Linked DNA regions of Homo sapiens: all the other regions are linked to region 1. The links are contacts of gene promoters, found by promoter capture Hi-C in human tissues and cell types (Jung and others, 2019). All regions are on one chromosome and are shown on one strand. The core of a region is centred on a gene start or on the middle of the fragment in contact, and the rest is flanking DNA. Distances in the headings are between cores, read along the strand shown. Region 1 holds the start of DOCK3 (dedicator of cytokinesis 3). Region 2 overlaps DOCK3 (dedicator of cytokinesis 3). Region 3 overlaps DOCK3 (dedicator of cytokinesis 3).

Region 1 (3,430 bases), core at 812-3,311:
GAGGGGAGGTTACTGTGCTGAGGGTCTCGATTTTCAGAGGCAAGCTGGAAGGCAGCTCATATGCTGAGAGAGTGTGTGTGTGGTGTGTTGAGTGGACTGGGAGCCTGAGGAAGGAAAGGATCAGAGCAGATGCTAGGGGGATAAGAGAGCAGGTGCATGGTCCTGCTGAAGGCCAATGTGTGCTATGCCCTTTTGCTTCAACTCACAAAAACAATCTAAATTTATACAAACAGCAAGAGTGTAGGAGTCCAGGCTTACTAAGTCCCTTCCTTCTCACTTTGGTCCCTTCTTTTCCCTTCCCTGGTTGGGTTTAATGCCCTTCCACCCTGGAGCTGAGGTGTGCAATCATGGAGAATTTTCTTCATCTGGGAAAGCCATAATCTAAGATGGATTCAGACTGGGAACAAGAGTATAAACTTTGGAAAAACTGGCCCTTAGGCTCTGTGACTGTCATCACATACAGCAGACAAGGGAGTGAACTTAGAGGATGAAATAAGAGCTTTAAGGTTGTTCCCTGAAGGCCTGCGTAGCTCAGCCCCACTTGTTGAATAGCTACCTGGAGAGTTTTGTAAGAATGTGGCTTCATTCCATAGAATACTTCCATGGTGGCCACCGGGGAGGGGTCTATCTTCTTGGAACAGTTAGCTCTTTCGTTATGTTCTTGGACACCCCTGCTACCCCTAAAAAGAAGTGTACCTGGCTATTGAGAAATTCTATCATTCACAGAACAGACATTTTTCTGGGCGGGAGTGGGCAGCTATGATTAGTGAGAGGAGGAGCCTAAAGGTCCGAAGGTGGGAAGGGGTGGCCATAACCCAGGGGAGCACAGTCAGGCCTGGGAGGAGTTACCAATCATGACACTTTGAACGAAGAATCAACAAGATCTGTTGATTGCAAGATATTCTTCTATTAGTCTGGCTTCCCATGCAACAACTATACAACAGGTGCTGGGTTGGTGGTGAGGGTTTAGAAAGTTGATTTTAGCCTGGAGCTTGCCTTCTGGGAGCTGACAGTCTTATAAGGGAAATAAGACAAACCGAACATAGCTCCAATTCCAGACAAAGAAGGAAAGGAGACTATGGGTCAGGGCAGGCTTCCTGGAGGTGAGGGGCTGAGCTGGGCTTTGAAGAGTGGTGGTGTCTGAGAGTGCTAGTGAAGGATGACACCAGGGTTTTGACTTAGTAGTGCTAGTGACAGAGATGGGCAAATCTGCTGGGATTAGAGCATGTGGTCCAAATGTAGGTGGAAAGGAGAAGTCCTGCAGTTCCTGTTCTTTGGTAAGTGGTTGACTTGGGGGTCACAAGGTGACATTTACAGGCATCAGAATGAATGGATTCTTAGGGAGGAGAGAGAGGAGGAAAGTTTCCGGTAGGAGCCAGTTCTTAGGGCTCCAAGGGAGGCAGACACCCAGGAGCAGCAGATGCCGTGTCCTGGGTAGGAACACGAAGGGCCCAATGAAGCTCTTCCTTACTAGCAAGGCGGCTGTTGATTGTTCTGGCCCCAAACATTCACCACTCAGGCCATCTCAGAGAAGCAAGAACCCAGGAGGTGTCAGCGGCCTCAGCCCACAGGGGATCCAGGAGAGAGGGGCACGAGTGCACCCCACCTGGTTCCCTCGTGGCGACTCCATCCTGCGGGCCCTGGGAATGCACAGGGTGGCTCCGGGGACCTTTCCGACAGCACTGTGGGTGACACTGGGATGGGTCTGAAAATGGTGTCGTGTCCTCCTTTTCTGGATCTCCCCTCTCCGACCAGGAGGCCTGTGGCCATCTCGGGGCGCAGGCAGGAGGCACTGGAAGCGGAAGCGAGTGGGGAGTCCGGGTAGAGGGAGTCGCCCACCTGACCGGCTTCGCCCCCTCCGGGGTTTGCTGCAGCTGAGGGCCCCGGACCAGCGATTCTAGAAGCCGGTCCGGGGCCGGGCAGTCCAATAGCTTCTCGCGGATTTCCCTCCGCTGGCGCGCAGCAGCGGCGCGTGGATTCGCGCGCGGGCTCGGGACGGCGCGAGCCCGGGCAGCGCGAGCCCCTGCGCGGCAGGGAGTGGCGCATGCGCGGGCGTCCTGCGAGCCCGCTGGGGCGAGCCGAGCCGCGGCGGCGCCGGGAGCCGGGCGGCGGAGCTGTGAAGAAGCAAGCGGCGGCACGGGAGCAGCGGCGACGGACAGGTGGCGAGCCTTCGCCCGCGCCGCCAGGGGCTGCTGGGCCACCCGCGGAGCCTCGCGGTCCAGACGTGGCGGGGGTGGCGGCGGCATCCCGGACGGCCTGTGAGGGATGCGCCGCCCACTGCCCCGCGCCGCCTGACCGTCCCCGCCTCGACTCGCGGTGCGCCACAGCCGGGCCCGCGGCCGTCCCCGCCGCGTTGTCGCCCGGTCGCCGCGCCCGCGGGGCCGCGCCCGGCACGGCCATGTGGACCCCCACGGAGGAGGAGAAATACGGCGTAGGTAGGTGAGGCTCAGGCCTGGCCGTGGCGGGGGTTCTGGGGGACGCGCCCAGCTCCCGGCCCCGCCTGGATTCGCATCCTCGTGCCCCCGCCACTGCCCGCAGGCTGCGCGGCCTCGGCGCGGGGCGAGCGCGGGGTGGGGGCAGGTGCGGGTGCGGGTGCGGGTGCGGGGGTGGGCGCGGGTCTCTGTGCAGAGAGGGCGGCAGGGGGCGCTGGCGGTGCGGCCTTGGCAGGTGCGGCCCGCGGGAGGGGTGGGCAAGGCCCGGGCAGTTGCCCGAGGTTTCTGGTGTGGGCCACGGGGCAATTTTACCCGATAAACCAAATTCTGGGAATATGTTTTCTCCCCTCCAAAAGCTCGATTTTAATGAGTTTCCGCACCTGAATTGATGAGCCCGATGGCTGTTTATTTTTGATCTGGAACCTTACAAGAAAACGGATGAAAAACGTTGACATCATTTTCCCAGTTCAAAAATTTGGACATTTGACTGCAAATGTTTGATCTGTTTTAATTTGTTTTGCCTTTAGTATTAGAAATAATACCTTACGATGGGAAATGTTTTTGGACATGTATCAATGTTTATACGGTTTTTTTTTTAAACCCTGTTTTCAGATGAGACCTTATTCCTCTTAGAAACCTTTTTTTAATGTTGTAAGTGTTAAACTCCAGAAGCTAAATAATTCTTACAATATTCAACTTCTTTAAAAAGAATATTCAGTAATTTAAAGTATTGAATGTTTTACAATGTTAGTGTTTTGTGGCAATTACATGATAGAGTTAAGCCTCATTGCATCACCTATCATCTTGTTCAGTTAGAAACAGATTTAAAATGTTGAGTGTACAGGTTTTGTTTTTCCTAAGCTCGTAATGGAAAATTTTAGATAGGAAACCTGTCTAAACATAGATTTTTGTTTCCCATCTTTACCGCAATTTAATCAAGATTTAGTTCACAATTCACTACAAAATAACTTGAAACTGCAGTGGTAACGAATGTTTTG
Region 2 (3,313 bases), core at 212-2,711, 220 kb after region 1:
GATATAAATCTTAGAAAGCTATTTGGAATTGACCTCCATATCCAAATGTCCAATAAGTTGATGGTCCACAATAAGAATTCTAAAATCTGGAGAAAATATTAAAAAACAATTGTCTGCAGGCACTGGAGAACAATTGGTTGGGCAAGATCTTGAGAGGCTATGATCTTTGAAGGAAGGGATGCACACAAGGAGAGCTTCATGTTTACTTTGGCCTTTTTCTCCAGATAATTTTTCATTTACTGTGTTGTAGTGGAATAGAGCCCAACCAGAAAATAGTAGTCTTTCATGACATCAGCAATTTGGCAGAATAAGAAGTTTCAGCTCTCATCCCCCTACAGAAACACAGATTTAACAATGGTATACCAAGAAAAATACCTTTATAAGAGGTCCAGTATCCAGTGAAGAAGTCGCAGTACTCCAGAGGAGCACAAAACAGAGTAGACACGTTGAAATGGCTAAGAAGAGCAATTTCACTCTTACCTTTGTCAGTCCCTTCTCCCAGCTGGTTAAGAGAGAATTTGTCCCAGATTGTGACTCTTCCAGTGGGGCAAAGAAAAAGAGGACTGTACATCAAACATCTCTAGCATTTGTGGGTGCTGCTTGAATGACCTCTTTCTATCCCACCTCACCCAGAGTGCTGGAGTAGCCAGCATAATTTAAACATGCAGGGGAAGCTAAGAACAAAGAAAAGGAGTGAGAGGCTCACTGCAGCTAGCTTGCCTCTGCAAGATCGGGAAAAGTGCACAACCCTAAGATTTCTGCAGGAGGGAGGGTGAGGAGTGGGAGCAATATCCCATCATTTCAATGCATCACTCTAGAAAAAAGTGGAGGGCAGGCAACTGTGGCCAGTAGAGCTCTGGAGGGTTGGGAGAAGATGCATATCTGTGAGTCTTCTCCCTCAGAAGGGAAAGGAAGAATGAAGCATACATCCTGGAATTTTAGAGTACTGCCACAGGGAAAAGAGATGGGCAGCTTACTGTGGCCATCATTTCTTTGAGAGATTGGGAGAAGGCACAGAACCCTGAGACTCTCAGGCTGGATGGAGGAATGAAGTGCGTACATTCATAGAAAAGGTTTGACAGGTTCCCAGAATCTGAGTTGGGCTGATTGGTGAGGGTCTTTGTCTATTGAAGTCAGTCCATAAAGACCGGGAGAAGTGGTTGTTTCTTCAAATGTGCAGGCCCCAAAGCAAAGCTGCAAGGAAGATGAAGGATCGGGAATACATGACACAATCAAAGGAACAAAATAAATATTCAATAACAGACCCTAAAGAAAAGGAGTTCTATGAATTGCCCTCAAGACAACTCAAAATAATAGTCTTAAAGATTACTTAACTAAATGAGTTACAAGAGAATACAGGCAACTAAATTAAATGAGGAAAATGAAAAGTGAAAATAATGAGAATACCAACAAAGAGATAGAAACCATAAGAAAGCAAAGAATCAAACATAAATTCTGGAGCTGAAGAATACAATAAGTAATATGAAAATTGTATGGAGAACTTCAACAGCATTCTTGATCAAATAGAGGAGCGAGTCAACTTGAAGATAGGTCATTTGAAATGATCCATTCAGAGAATCAGAAAGGAAAAAGAGGGAAGAAATCCTAAGAAACTAATGGGACACCATCAAGCAAACCAATATGCTCAATATGGAATTATCACACGTGGGGCAGGAGAGAGAGGAAGAGGGAGAGCAAGGAAAAGAAAGGAGCAGGAAACTTATTTAAAGAAACAATGGCTGAAAACTTCCCAAATCTGGGGAGGGAAATGAACATTGATCCTTGAAGTCCAAACAACCCCTTTAAGATGTTCATGTCCTTTGTAGGGACATGGATGAAGCTGGAAGCCATCATTCTCAGCACAGTATCACAAGGACAAAAAACCAAACACCGTGTGTTCTCATTCATAGGTGGGAACTGAATAATGAGAACATTGGGACACAGGAAGGGGAACATCACACACCGGGGCCTGTCGTTAGGTGAGGGGAGGGGGGAGGGGGGAGGGATAGCATTAGGAGATATACCTAATGTAAATGACGAGTTAATGGGTGCAGCACACCAACATGGCACTTGTATACCTATGTAACAAACCGGCACGTTGTGCACATGTACCCTAGAACTTAAAGTATAATTAAAAAAACAGGAATCCAAAGAAATCCATGCTGAGATGCATTGTGGTCAAATTGTCAAAAGTCAAAGAGAATTTTGAAAGCAGCAAGATGAAAAGGACTTGTCTTATATAAGAGAGCCTCCATAAATCTGCTATCAGCAGATTTCTCCGCCAAAACCTTGTAGGCCAGAAGGGAGCAGGATGATATATTTAAAATACTGAAGGAAACAAAAAAAACCCTGTCAACCAGTACCCAGCAAAACTGTCCTTCAGAAATGAAGTAGAGAGAAAGGCTTTCCCAGATAAACAAAAGCTGAGGGAGTTCATCACCAGTAGATTTGCCTTATAAAAAATGCTGAAAGGAGTTCTTTAAGTTGAAACAAAATGATGCTATACAGCAACATGAAAGCATACAAAAGTATACAATTCACAGGCAAAGGCAAATATATACACATATACAGAATATTTGAATACTGTAAAGATAGTATATAAATAATTTTAGTATAAGAGTTAAAAGACAAGTATTAAGAATAACTATAACTACAAAAACTTGTTAGTAGATGCACAATATAAAATATGTAAATTGTGTCATCAACAATAAAACATTTGTTGAGGGAATTAAAATTGTCAGGTTTTTGTTTTTGATTTTTTTTTACAGCATGCAAATCTTTTAAGTTTAGCAAATCTTAATTTTAAGGGAACTATGAATAGTGATTGGTTCTGTTTACATAGTTGGTTAATTAAGCTTTATTCTTATATATTCTTCCCATCTGTTAGGTCACACAGTTCTTGAGCGTTAAAACAATGTTCTGTTGAATTCTAGGTCTCCCAGCTGTATTTGACTATTTGGTTACAATTCCAAATTGTTATTCTGACTGCTAAGTGATTTACTTTCAAAGTATTGCTCCAGTAATGTTAAAGGTGTAATTTCTACCACTTCTTCTTCAATTAAAGGACATTTTAATGGCTTTTTTTCTTTATCAATTGGGATAAAAGCCTCAAACAAAAAACATCAGAAATGAATCACATAAAAGAGTAATCTTAGTTTTTATTTCAGCATCCATATGAAATGCTTAGTTACCTTATTTTATCCCCGCTTTTTTTTTTTTTTTTTTTAGAACTTGAAAAACTCTTTTTTTCCTTCAACTTTAATTTTAACTTCCAGGGTACATGTCCATCACGTGCAGTTTTGTTATACAGGTA
Region 3 (3,465 bases), core at 951-3,450, 230 kb after region 1:
TTGTTTTCCATTTGCTTGGTAGATCTTCCTCCATCCCTTTATTTTGAGCCTCTGTGTGTCTCTGCACATGAGATGAGTCTCCTGAATACAGCACACTGATGGGTCTTGACTCTATCCAATTTGCCAGTCTGTGCCTTTTAATTGGAGCATTTAGCCCATTTACATTTAAAGTGAATATTGTTATGTGTGAATTTGATCCTGTCATTATGATGTTAGCTGGTACCAGCTCTTTTTTGTGCCTCTGGTAGAATTGAGCTGTATATCCTTCTGGTTTGGATGGTAGGCTATTTATTACTGCCTCAATTTCAGAGCTTGTTGTTGGTCTATTCAGAGATTCAGTTTGTTCCTGGTTCAGTCTTGGGAGGGCATATGCATCCAGTCATTTATTCATTTCTTCTAGATTTTCTAGTTTATGGGCATAGAGATGTTCATAGTATTCTCTATTGGTGGTTAGTATTTCTGTGCGATCAGCAGTGATATCCCTGTTATCATTAATAATTGTGTCTATTTGATTCTCATTTTTATTATGTGTGTAGCTAGCGGTCTATTTTATTAATTTTTTCAAAAAACCATCTTCCAGATTCATTGATTTTTTTTTTTTTTGAAGGGCTTTTTTTTTTTTTCATCTCAATTTATTTCACGTCTGCTCTGATCCTGGTTATTTCTTGCTTTCTACTAGCTTTGTGGTTTCTTTGCTCTTGATTCTACAGTTCTTTTAGTTGTGATGTTAGGCTGCTCATTTGAGATCTTTCTGGCTTTTTGATGTGGACATTTAGTGTTATAAACTTGTGTCTTAACCCTGCTTTAGCAGCATCCCAGAGATTCTGTTACATTGTCTCTTTGTTCTCATTATTTTCAAAGAACTTCTTGATTTCTGCCTCAATTATTCACCCAGTAGTCAATTCAGGAACAGGTTGTTCAGTTTCCTTGTAGTTGTGAGGGTTGGAGTGAGTGTCTTAACATTGAGTTCTAATTTGATTGTGCTGTCATCTGAGAGACTGTCTTGATTTTAGTTCTTTTGCATTTGCTGAGGTGTGTTTTACTTCTGATTATGTGATCTATTTTAGAGTAAGTGCCATGTGGCAATCAGAAGAATGTATATCCTGTTGGTATTGGTTGGAGAGTTCTGTAGATATCGATCAGGTTCGCTTGATCCAGACCTTAGTTCAGGTCCTTAATATCTTTGTTAATTTTCTGTCTCGATGATCTAATATTGTCAGTGAGGTTTTAAAGTCTCCCACTATTATTTTGTGGGAGTCTAAGTCTCTTTGTAGGTCTCTAAGAGCTTGCTTTATGAATCTGGGTGCTGCTCTATTGGGTGCATATGTATTTAGGTTATTTAGCTCTTTCTATTGAATTGAACCTTTTATCATTATGTAATGCCCTTCTTTGTCTTTTTTGATATTTGATAATGTAAAGTCTGTTTTGTCAGAAAGTAGGATTGTGATCCCTGCTTTTTTTTTGTTTTCCATTTGCTTGGTAAATTTTCCTCCATCTCTTTATTTTGAGCCTATGTATGTCTTTGCACGTGAGATGGGTCTCCTGAAGACGGCATACCAATGGTCTTAACTTTTTATCCATCTTGCCATTCTGTGTCTTTTAATTGGGGCATTTAGCCCATTAACATTTAAGTTTAATACTGTTATGTGTGAATTTGATCGTGTCATCATGGTGTTAGCTGGTTATTTTGCAGGCTTGTTCATGTGGTTGTTCATAGTGTCACTGTTCTTCTGTGTACTTCAGTGCGTTTTTGTAGTGGCTAGTAATGGTCTTTCCTTTCCATATGGAGTGCTTCCTTCAGGAGCTCTTGCAAGGCAGGCGTGTTGATGAATTCCCTCAGCATTTGCTTCTTTGAAAAGGATCTTATCTCTTCTTCGCTTATGAAGCTTAGTTTGGCCAGATGTGAAATTCTGGGTTGGAAATTTTTTTAAGAATGTTGAATATTGGCTTCCAATCTCTTCTGGCTTGTAGGGTTTCCACTGAGGGGTCTGCTGTTATTCTGGTGGGCTTTCCTTTGTAGATGACCTGTCTTTTTTCTCTGGCTACCCTTAACGTTTTTTTTTTTTTTTTTTTCATTTTGACCTTGGAGAATCTGATGATTATGTGTCTTGGGGTTGATCTTCTTGTGGAGTATCTTACTGAGGTTCTCTGGATTTCTTGAATTTGAATGTTGGCCTGTCTTGCTTGGTTGGGGAAGATCTCCTGGATGATATCCTGAAGTATGTTTTCCAACCTAGTTCTGTTCTCTCCATCTCTTTCAGGTAACTCAATCAGTTGTAGGTTTGGTCTTTTTATGTAATCCCATATATCTCAGCGGTTTTGTTCATTCCTTTTCATTCTTTCTTCTCTATTCTTGTCTGCCTGTATTATTTCAGAAAGATCGTCTTCAAGCTTTGATATTCTTTTCTCTGCTTGGTCTGTTCTGCTATTGGTACTTGTGATTGCATTGTGAATTTCCTGTGTTTTACTTTTAGCTTCATCAGGTCAGTTATGCTCCTTTCTAAAATGGCTATTCTCATTATCAGCTCTTATATTGTTTTTTCATGATTGTTAGCTTCTTTGCATTGGGTTAGGACATGCTCCTTTATCTCAGTGAAGTTCATTATTACCCACCTCCTGAAGCCTGCTCCTGTCATTTCAGCCATCTCAGCCTCAGACCAGTTCTGTGCTCTTGCTGGAGAGGTATTGCAGTCATTTGGAGAAGAAAAGGCACTCTGGCTTTTTGAGTTTCCAGCATCACCCCTCCTTACACTCTAGGCAGTGCAGCTCAGGGAGAGATCTTTTCCACTGGTGACACAATCATTCCTTTGGCTGCCCCATCTCATGTGTCACTGGGTCATGTGCACCCCAAGTCCAGCAGCTCTTAGCCCAGCACAGCCCCAGGACTTGTCCAATGACTGCAGTCCTTTTGGCCTAGACTGCATTTCAAATTTGTTCAGAACCCAGGGGCACTTTAGTGAACTGGTGGTGGGGCTAGCCACCACTCAGGTGCCTACTGCTGGGGTGTAAGATTACCCTCTGGCTGAAGGTGCTCTAAGAGCCCACTCCATGGGCATTGGCCAAATTCTGCCTTGTGTTATGTTCTGCTGTGATAAGGAATCACTGAGTTCCAATGCAAAGCCCCACAGTCACTTTGTTCTCCCTCCCCCAAGTACACAGATTGTCTCTCCATGTGCTGATGGTGGATGGGGATTGGTGGTGTAGGCAATGTGAGTCAGTCTTTCTTATCTCTTCAATGCTTCTTTCCTTGATATCATGTTAAAACCAGGTGCTCTGTCCACTCACCTCTAATTTTTAGTTCTTAAGAAGGTGCTTTCTTGCATGGATGGTTGTTCAATTTGGTGTTCCTGCAGAGGATGATTGCTGGAGGGTTCTATTTGGCCATCTTGCTATGCCTTCCCTCATTTGTCTGTTTTTTTTTTGGATTGTCTTTTTGCTGTGGAATTGAGTTCATTATATATGGTG

The links. The method cuts DNA at HindIII sites, captures the fragments that hold promoters and counts their contacts. A contact is called where the count stands out against the background at its distance.
Region 2: a fragment that was not itself captured here is called in contact with the fragment with the promoter of DOCK3 in region 1 in 1 of the 25 tissues and cell types used here (dorsolateral prefrontal cortex).
Region 3: a contact is called between a fragment that was not itself captured here and the fragment with the promoter of DOCK3 in region 1, in 3 of the 25 tissues and cell types used here (H1 embryonic stem cells, dorsolateral prefrontal cortex and mesendoderm cells).

The regions. Positions count from the first base shown.
Region 1 is chr3:50,672,866-50,676,295 of GRCh38, forward strand. It overlaps DOCK3 (dedicator of cytokinesis 3), which reads left to right and starts at 2,062. Exons shown (of 53, transcript NM_004947.5): 1 at 2,062-2,435. The coding sequence starts at 2,399. It overlaps MIR4787 (microRNA 4787), which reads left to right and starts at 2,215; the gene lies at 2,215-2,298. RefSeq lists a silencer at 2,026-2,315. The HindIII fragment of the contact is 18,901 bases long and covers 1-3,430 here.
Region 2 is chr3:50,891,998-50,895,310 of GRCh38, forward strand. The region is part of intron 4 of DOCK3 (dedicator of cytokinesis 3); the gene reads left to right. Among named protein-coding and RNA genes, the nearest start is that of MIR4787, 220 kb to the left of the region's middle. The HindIII fragment of the contact is 4,411 bases long and covers 1-3,313 here.
Region 3 is chr3:50,907,588-50,911,052 of GRCh38, forward strand. All of the region lies in intron 4 of DOCK3 (dedicator of cytokinesis 3), which reads left to right. Among named protein-coding and RNA genes, the nearest start is that of MIR4787, 230 kb to the left of the region's middle. The HindIII fragment of the contact is 3,969 bases long and covers 217-3,465 here.